Linked DNA regions of Homo sapiens: region 2 is linked to region 1. The links are contacts of gene promoters, found by promoter capture Hi-C in human tissues and cell types (Jung and others, 2019). All regions are on one chromosome and are shown on one strand. Each heading gives the region's core, a stretch centred on a gene start or on the middle of the fragment in contact. The rest is flanking DNA. Distances are from core to core; before and after follow the strand shown. Region 1 holds the start of RND1 (Rho family GTPase 1). Region 2 overlaps KMT2D (lysine methyltransferase 2D).

What was found. The method cuts DNA at HindIII sites, captures the fragments that hold promoters and counts their contacts. A contact is called where the count stands out against the background at its distance.
Region 2: a contact is called between a fragment that was not itself captured here and the fragment with the promoter of RND1 in region 1, in 3 of the 25 tissues and cell types used here (adrenal gland, dorsolateral prefrontal cortex and lymphoblastoid cells).

What each region holds. Positions count from the first base shown.
Region 1 is chr12:48,863,346-48,869,487 of GRCh38, reverse strand. It overlaps RND1 (Rho family GTPase 1), which reads left to right and starts at 3,618. Exons shown (of 5, transcript NM_014470.4): 1 at 3,618-3,840; 2 at 4,618-4,705. The coding sequence starts at 3,721. RefSeq lists enhancers at 3,295-3,424, 3,685-3,804. The HindIII fragment of the contact is 19,361 bases long and covers 1-6,142 here.
Region 2 is chr12:49,040,024-49,042,523 of GRCh38, reverse strand. It overlaps KMT2D (lysine methyltransferase 2D), which reads left to right. Exons shown (of 55, transcript NM_003482.4): 29 at 194-435; 30 at 534-607; 31 at 819-869; 32 at 989-2,500. Among named protein-coding and RNA genes, the nearest start is that of KMT2D, 20 kb to the left of the region's middle. The HindIII fragment of the contact is 6,740 bases long and covers 1-2,500 here.

The sequences.
Region 1 (6,142 bases), core at 2,369-4,868:
TATGACCCACAAAATATCCTTGGAGACACATCTTGGGCCTCAGCCATGGTGGAGGCTGCTCTGTATAATGGCTCGGGCCTTCTGCTACTTGACCCTGAAATGCAGCCACCCAGGGAAGAATCAGTGTTGGCACCAGCTCTCAGAATTTCTGTCTTGGAGGAGCTCAGGAATGGCAATGTTCTTAGAAGCCAGAAGAAGCTGTTTGCTTAGCAGGAACAATTTTTACTTATTCTGAAAGTTTATTTGGAGTGGTGGATGAATGGTGTGTGTAGGGGGAGGCTGGTAGAGAACATGGAGAGAAGGCTAACACCTGTGGGGTTGTGATTGGAGGGAACTCAGTTAAGGGTTAGGAGGATGTATGGGGGACTGGGTACGGTGGCTCATGCCTGTAATCCCAGCACTTTGGGAGGCCGAGGCAGGCGGATCACAAGGTCAAGAATTTGAGACCAGCCTGGCCAACATGGGGAAACGTCGTCTCTACTAAGAATACAAAAATTAGCTGGGCATCGTGGCACGTGCCTGTAATCCCAGCTACTCAGGAGGCTGAGGCAGGAGAATCGCTTGAACCCGGGAGACGGAGGTTGCAGTCAGCGGAGATTGTGCCACTGCACTCCAGCCTGAGCAACAGAGCAAGACTCTGTCTCGGAAAAAAAAAAAAAAAAAAAGAGGATGCATAGGAACTCTACTGATGCTTCCAGAACTAAGCCCAGATGAGACTGAAGGTAGGGGACAGGAGGATACAGAAGGAGAAGGTCAGGCTGAGGGAAAGGACTCCAGATTGAGGCAGTCTATGATCTTACAGCTGTTCCTGGAACTATCCCAAACCCCACTTATAGACAGCTCACAGAGGCTGTCAGGCTGCTGGAAAAGGGCAAGAAGAGGACAAATTCTATCCACAGAACATTATCTGAGGGTGGAGGATGAGGGGAGATAAAGGGCAGAAACCTTCAGAAAGCCTGGGAGAGACGGCAGCCAGCTAATGGTAACATCTGGCCTTTCCACCCTGAAGTTTCCCTCAGGCCATTCCCCATCCCTGGAAGTGAATGGAGCTTAGGACATGGGTGGAGAGCAGGTATAGGCCTTGGCCCCAGAGCCACGACGAGGTTTGACTGGAGGAACACTGGTTAGGCTGTATTCTCAAAACAACATCCACTCTCCTACTGCCTGTGGTGGGCACTAGAAATCTCATTCTTAGAGATCTGTCCCTTTGGGTCTGTGAAAGGCTTTCAAGCATCCTTTATCACAGGGAAACTATCCCTGGGTGGGGCAGCAACAACTGTGAATTAAGAGTAAAGCTCAGGCTGGGGCACAGTGGCTCACGCCTGTAACCCCAGCACTTTGGGAGGCCGAGGCAGGTGGATCACCTAAGGTTAGGAGTTTATGACCAGCCTGGCCAACATGGCGAAACCCCATCTCTACTCAAAATACAAAAATTAGCTGGGTGTGGTGGCAGGCACCTGTAATCCCAGCTACTCGGGAGGCTGAGGTAGGAGAATCGATTGAACCCGGCGGGCACAGTTTGCAGTGAGCCGAGATTGTGGCACTGCATTCCAGCCTGGGTGAAAGAGCAAGACTCTGTATAAAAAAAAAAAAAAAGTAAAGCTCAGATGAAACAAGGCCCAGGAGACACTGGGCTTGACAAGGGAAAGGGACTACTCTCAATTTTGCCCAAAGTTGGTCTTCCTTCAATCACAAATCTCCAGGAGCCCTTATTTGTACGGTCTTGATTCCTGGACAATCAGTGGTTTATTTAAGCTGTGGACAGCCCATAGTTCTGTCTAGTAGAGGCTCCCCAAAATACAGGGGCCCCATCAGTCAGGGCTGTTAAGAAGTTATGAAGCTCGGCTGGGCGCGGTGGCTCACGCCTGTAATCCCAGCACTTTGGGAGGCCGATGTGGGTGGATCACTTAAGGTCAGGAGTTTGAGACCAGCCTGACCAATATGGTGAAACCCTGTCTCTACTGAAAATACAAAAATTAGCCAGGCATGGTGACGTGCGCCTGTAGTCTCAGCTACTCGGGAGGCTGAGACAGGAGAATTGCTTGAACCCGGGAGGCAGAGGTTGCAGTGAACTGAGATCAAGCCACTGCACTCCAGCCCGGGTAACAGAGCGAGACTCCATCTCAAAAAAAAAAAAAAAAAAAATTTATGTAGTTCATCTCAACCTTAGATTGTCCTCCAGCTTCTAATCCCAAAATCCTGGGCCCAGTCTGGACTTTAACCAGGTGACACACATTAGTGCGTCAGTTTCAGTGGGCGTTAACATGGAACTGGACCTGTGCCTGATTCATCCAGGAAGCTGAGCCTAGGCCGCAGAACAAACACCCCTAAGCAGCTTCTGCTAGGCATGGGTGAGAGGCTGTCTGGCCAAACAGTGACTGTGTTTGCTTTGTCTTCTTCCTCTCTCCCACCCCCACTTGCCAGAGTCCCTCATTTCTCTCTGCCCATCACTGGGTCAGGTGCTGTGTGTTTTTTTTATGGATGACTCTAGAAAGTTTTCTCTTTCTCTTTCTCTCTCTCTGTCTTTGGTGGTGAAGGTGATTCTTGAAGAAGAGAAGGCTTTAAAAGGGGCACAGGCCGGGCACGGTGGCTGACGCCTATAATCCCAGCACTTTGGGAGGCCAAGGCGGGCGGATCGCCTGAGGTCGGGAGTTCGAGACCAGCCTGACCAACATGGAGAAACCCCGTCTCTACTAAAAATACAACATTAGCTGGGCATGGTGGTGCATGCCTGTAATCCCAGCTACTCGGGAGGCTGAGGCAGGAGAATCGCTTGAATCCGGGAGATGGAGGTTGCAGTGAGCTGAGATCGTGCCATTGCACTCCAGCCTGGGCAACAAGAGCGAAACTCCATCTCAAAATAAATAAATAAATAAATAAATAAATAAATAAATAAATAAATAAATAAATAAAAGAGGTACAGCAGGAGCTGATATTGGGAGGGGAAATAAAGGGAAGTAAGAACTGGTTTGGATGGGAATTAGAAAAAACAAAAAAGTCAGACATCAGGCCAGGCGCTGTGGCTCATGTCTGTAGTCCCAGCACTTTGGGAGGCTGAGACAGGCGGATTGCTTGAGCCCAGAAGTTCAAGACCAGCCTGGATAACATGGTGAGACCCCTGTCTCTATTTAAAACAAAAGATGTAAGGAAAAAAAAGAAAAAAAATGTCAGAGAAGTTCTGGGCCACCTCCCCCATCCCCTACTCCTCCAAAACACACACACACACACACACCTGTCTATAGTCTAAGCAGGTCCTGCTTTTGTAACCCACCCGGGACAGTCCCTGCAACTCCAGCCTGACCTCACTTCCTGCTTCCATAGCTAGTTTGTTTTTCTGACACTTATTGGTAGACACTCCAGATCATTTCATTTTGCTTCCAGTACCCTTTCCACTTCCTAATACAAATGCAAAACAACCTGGGAATCCCCTTTCAGGGGGAAACAACGGTGCAGCTTTAAGAGAAAGAGAAGGGAGGAAGGGGGCGCTGACTCAGATCCTCAGATCCATTGGCTGCTGGAGGGAATCCCACCTCAGGGATTGGGCGTAACAGAGTCCGCCTCCTCTTGTGATTGGCTCAGCCAGAAAAATAAAAGGCGGCTGTGCCGGCCTCCTCCTCAGTTGGAGGGAGGCAGGGAATCTGGCTTGATTGGCGTGCTGAGACGCACCTGGCGCAACCCTCCCTTCTGAATCGAAGTTCAAGTCCCGCGGACACTGCAACCATGAAGGAGAGACGGGCCCCCCAGCCAGTCGTGGCCAGATGTAAGCTCGTTCTGGTCGGGGACGTGCAGTGTGGGAAGACCGCGATGTTGCAAGTGTTAGCGAAGGATTGCTATCCAGAGGTGAGCTGCCCGCCCGCCCGCTGGCCGGCTTTTCTCCCTGCCTGCCCGCCTTGGGGTAGATTTCCACCTGCTCAGGAGACGTGGCTCCCCCAGCCCCAGCCCATCCTCAGCCGCTTTCTGAGGCTTTACCATCCTCAGCTGCTTTTTGGCTGGAGGACTGCCCTGCCTTAGCTTCCCCTGAGACCTGTTCCACTTCTGCCGCCCCGCTGGCTCCTCCTCACCTCTTCACCCAGAGGACCCATCAGATCCCCTCCACCTTCCTGCGTCCCTGGAGTCTGCTCTCAGGTGAGGGCACTGGAGGCATTTGAAAGTCTGGGGTTTCTTCTTGACGTAATCCCTGCCTATCCGCTCACCTGCTCCTCAAAGGCTCTATGCCTGTGCCTTCAGGCAGGCTTCTGCAGCCCCTCTGTTCACCTGGCCGGGAGGGGTTTGAGAGGAGATGAGCTAGGATTGGCTTTGGCCTGTGGCTCTCTCAAATTGGGAAACACAAATCTGGGGATGGGAGGAATCTGTGTGTGTGTGTGTCCCTGATCGCCTAGGATATGGGGGGCTTACCCCTGGTGTGGTGGTGTGGGGGGGTGTCATTCACATTTCTCACTGCTGCAGAGCAAAGTGCCTGGTCCTCCACAGTCCCTTCCCTCCTGCCCCAGGCATCTCCTCTGGTTTCTTGTCTCCTGTGACTTTACTGTCTCTCTGGTGAGTGCGTGTGTAGCCAGCACTAACCAGGGGATCTGAGGGTAGGGGTGCATGGGGTGAATGTTTCCTCTCTTTTCACAGACCTATGTGCCCACCGTGTTCGAAAATTACACAGCCTGTTTGGAGACAGAGGAACAGAGGGTGGAGCTTAGTCTCTGGGATACCTCAGGTAAGAATTCTGCTCCAAATACCCCTTTCCCACCCCTACTGGTCTGCTGTGTAGCTGCTGTCTTTTAGAAATTGTTTTCCCCTTTGGTGGGGAGAAGTGAAAAAAGAGGATCTGAAGACTCATTAGTTGTGGGGAGGGCTGACAGTTGGTGGACTCAGTTGCATGGTCCAAGGGTGCAGAGTGGGTGAACCCCAGGAGCCACTCTCTTCCCTGGGTCTGGTTCCACCCTTTAGAGGGCTGGGATGGTGAGGTGAAGGGACCCATGAATAGTCCTGGGGGTGGGCAGTAAAACAGGACTTCTCCATTTCCATTCCCTACCACCCAACATGCACGCGTACACACATGCACACACACGCGCGCGCGCGCACACACACACACACACACACACACACACACACCTTTTACTTCCCCAGAGCAAAGCCAAATAAGAGGCAAGAGGCAGTGCTGCTGGAGGCAGCGTGGTTGGGGCGGAGAGACAAGTCTGCTTTGGGGAAAGGTTGCTCAGACTCAGTTTTGTCTCCTGCATTCCATCTTGGGCCACTGCTGTCCTCCTGCCGCAGCTCAGCCCCACTCGTCACACCGCTGCAGCTCGGGGATGAAGCAATGCATCATCGATGTTTTGGAAGTTGGGGGAGATGGCTTAATATAGGGCATAGTCAGTTGTGAATAGTGGCCGGCAGGGCAGAGGGGAGGTTGGCTCTGACTGTTTTCCCTCTACTGGGGTGAGGTAGAATATGCCCTGTCTCTCTAGAATGTAGAAACAATGTTTTTCCAGCCTCTCAGCCCCAAGCCCTTAGTGCTAGGCTATCCTTTGCCTTGATTCTGACCCCTTCCCATTATCTCTTTACCCCAGACCTTTTTCAATAGACTGGCTCAGAGTCATAATTAAGGAGTAAAAGCCGGGAATAAGAGAAAGAAAATAAAATCCACCCCTCCCCAAAAATGCATATTCAGGCTGAGTTTAAAAAGGGACCGTAAATCACTAGGTGTTTCCTGCTACATATAATAAATATGCTGTCCTGCTCCTTCAACAGCTGTTGTTCCCATGCTCTAATTCTGAGGTCTGAAAAGATTGGGGCTAGGGAATGGTTAGACAGACAATGAGCCTTTCCTCCCCAAACAAAAATTCCCCAATCTGGTATGCTTTTCCCTGTTGCAGTTTCAGGGCTTGGGAGGCAGCGTTCTGGTTCTCCTGGGCTGTGCTATGCTGGCAAGATTGGGCTAGAATGCAGCTTGATGGCATGATGTATAATTTTTGGTTTTTCATCTGCTGTACCCTCCCACCTTCCAATCTTCCCAGAATCTTACTGCAGCTCATCTCTTTTCACTACCACCGCCCAAACGCCCTCCCCCCACCTCCTCCCTCCTTTGACAGTCAGAATGCAGCCCTCAAATCCCAAACCAGATCATGGAAAATCAGCAAGTGTAGTCTCTGTT
Region 2 (2,500 bases), core at 1-2,500, 180 kb before region 1:
TTGTCCTTTCCCTCCATCTGAGTTCATGCTTTGCCTCCCTCGGACTCCTGCAGCACTTCCCCTGCTCCTCCCCATTCCCTTGTTAGTGACCCTCCTCTTTTGGGGCAGGGCAGTGGCCTGGGGCTCTAGGCAGTTTGTCTGGGGTGGGACTTGGCATCCCTGCGCCCTGTGACTCTCTGCCCCTGCGCCCCAGGGAGCGCGGGGGCTTCTTTAGCCCGGAACCCGGTGAGCCCGACAGCCCCTGGACGGGCTCAGGTGGCACCACGCCCTCCACCCCCACAACCCCCACCACGGAGGGTGAGGGCGACGGACTCTCCTATAACCAGCGGAGTCTTCAGCGCTGGGAGAAGGATGAGGAGTTGGGCCAGCTGTCCACCATCTCACCTGTGCTCTATGCCAACATTAATTTTCCTAATCTCAAGCAAGACTACCCAGGTACCTGTGGGATGAGGGCAAGGGAGACAGCCTGGCAACATGGCAGGTGGAGGAGTCGCCTGCCAAGTCTTCTCTGACTCACTCTCTCTGCCCTCCAGACTGGTCAAGCCGTTGCAAACAAATCATGAAGCTCTGGAGAAAGGTTCCAGCAGCTGACAAAGCCCCCTACCTGGTGAGGCAGAAAGGAGCATGGATTAGCGTGGGAACTGAGAGGGAGGGAGGGATCTTTGGGTAATTTACCTCAGTTCTTTCCGCTCCCCACTCCTAAAGCAGCTGGGCCAGAAGGGATCTGCTTCTGGGTAGGGAGTGTGAAAACACTACAGTATGGGGGCGGGGCATGAGACCAAGCACTAGGCCCTAAGGCTGTGTCCCATATCCCTCAGCAAAAGGCCAAAGATAACCGGGCAGCTCACCGCATCAACAAGGTGCAGAAGGTGAGTGGGGCTGGGCTGGGGTGTAGCAGTCCTCTAGTGGGTGGCCTCTCTTGAGGGTGGAGGGCCATGGGGCCTGCCTGCAGCAGCCTGACTGCCCTATGCCTGGTCTCCCCCTGTAGCAGGCTGAGAGCCAGATCAACAAGCAGACCAAGGTGGGCGACATAGCCCGTAAGACTGACCGACCGGCCCTACATCTCCGCATTCCCCCGCAGCCAGGGGCACTGGGCAGCCCGCCCCCCGCTGCTGCCCCCACCATTTTCATTGGCAGCCCCACTACCCCCGCCGGCTTGTCTACCTCTGCGGACGGGTTCCTGAAGCCGCCGGCGGGCTCGGTGCCTGGCCCTGACTCGCCTGGTGAGCTCTTCCTCAAGCTCCCACCCCAGGTGCCCGCCCAAGTGCCTTCGCAGGACCCCTTTGGACTGGCCCCTGCCTATCCCCTGGAGCCCCGCTTCCCCACGGCACCGCCCACCTATCCCCCCTATCCTAGTCCTACGGGGGCCCCTGCGCAGCCCCCGATGCTGGGCGCCTCATCTCGTCCTGGGGCTGGCCAGCCAGGGGAATTCCACACTACCCCACCTGGCACCCCCAGACACCAGCCCTCCACACCTGACCCATTCCTCAAACCCCGCTGCCCCTCGCTGGATAACTTGGCTGTGCCTGAGAGCCCTGGGGTAGGGGGAGGCAAAGCTTCCGAGCCCCTGCTCTCGCCCCCACCTTTTGGGGAGTCCCGGAAGGCCCTAGAGGTGAAGAAGGAAGAGCTTGGGGCATCCTCTCCTAGCTATGGGCCCCCAAACCTGGGCTTTGTTGACTCACCCTCCTCAGGCACCCACCTGGGTGGCCTGGAGTTAAAGACACCTGATGTCTTCAAAGCCCCCCTGACCCCTCGGGCATCTCAGGTAGAGCCCCAGAGCCCGGGCTTGGGCCTAAGGCCCCAGGAGCCACCCCCTGCCCAGGCTTTGGCACCTTCTCCTCCAAGTCACCCAGACATCTTTCGCCCTGGCTCCTACACTGACCCATATGCTCAGCCCCCATTGACTCCTCGGCCCCAACCTCCGCCCCCTGAGAGCTGCTGTGCTCTGCCCCCTCGCTCACTGCCCTCCGACCCTTTCTCCCGAGTGCCTGCCAGTCCTCAGTCCCAGTCCAGCTCCCAGTCTCCACTGACACCCCGGCCTCTGTCTGCTGAAGCTTTTTGCCCATCACCCGTTACCCCTCGCTTCCAGTCCCCTGACCCTTATTCTCGCCCACCCTCACGCCCTCAGTCCCGTGACCCATTTGCCCCATTGCATAAGCCACCCCGACCCCAGCCCCCTGAAGTTGCCTTTAAGGCTGGGTCTCTAGCCCACACTTCGCTGGGGGCTGGGGGGTTCCCAGCAGCCCTGCCCGCGGGGCCAGCAGGTGAGCTCCATGCCAAGGTCCCAAGTGGGCAGCCCCCCAATTTTGTCCGGTCCCCTGGGACGGGTGCATTTGTGGGCACCCCCTCTCCCATGCGTTTCACTTTCCCTCAGGCAGTAGGGGAGCCTTCCCTAAAGCCCCCTGTCCCTCAGCCTGGTCTCCCGCCACCCCATGGGATCAACAGCCATTTTGGGCCCGGCCCCACCTTGGGCAAGCCTCAAAGCACAAACTACACAGTA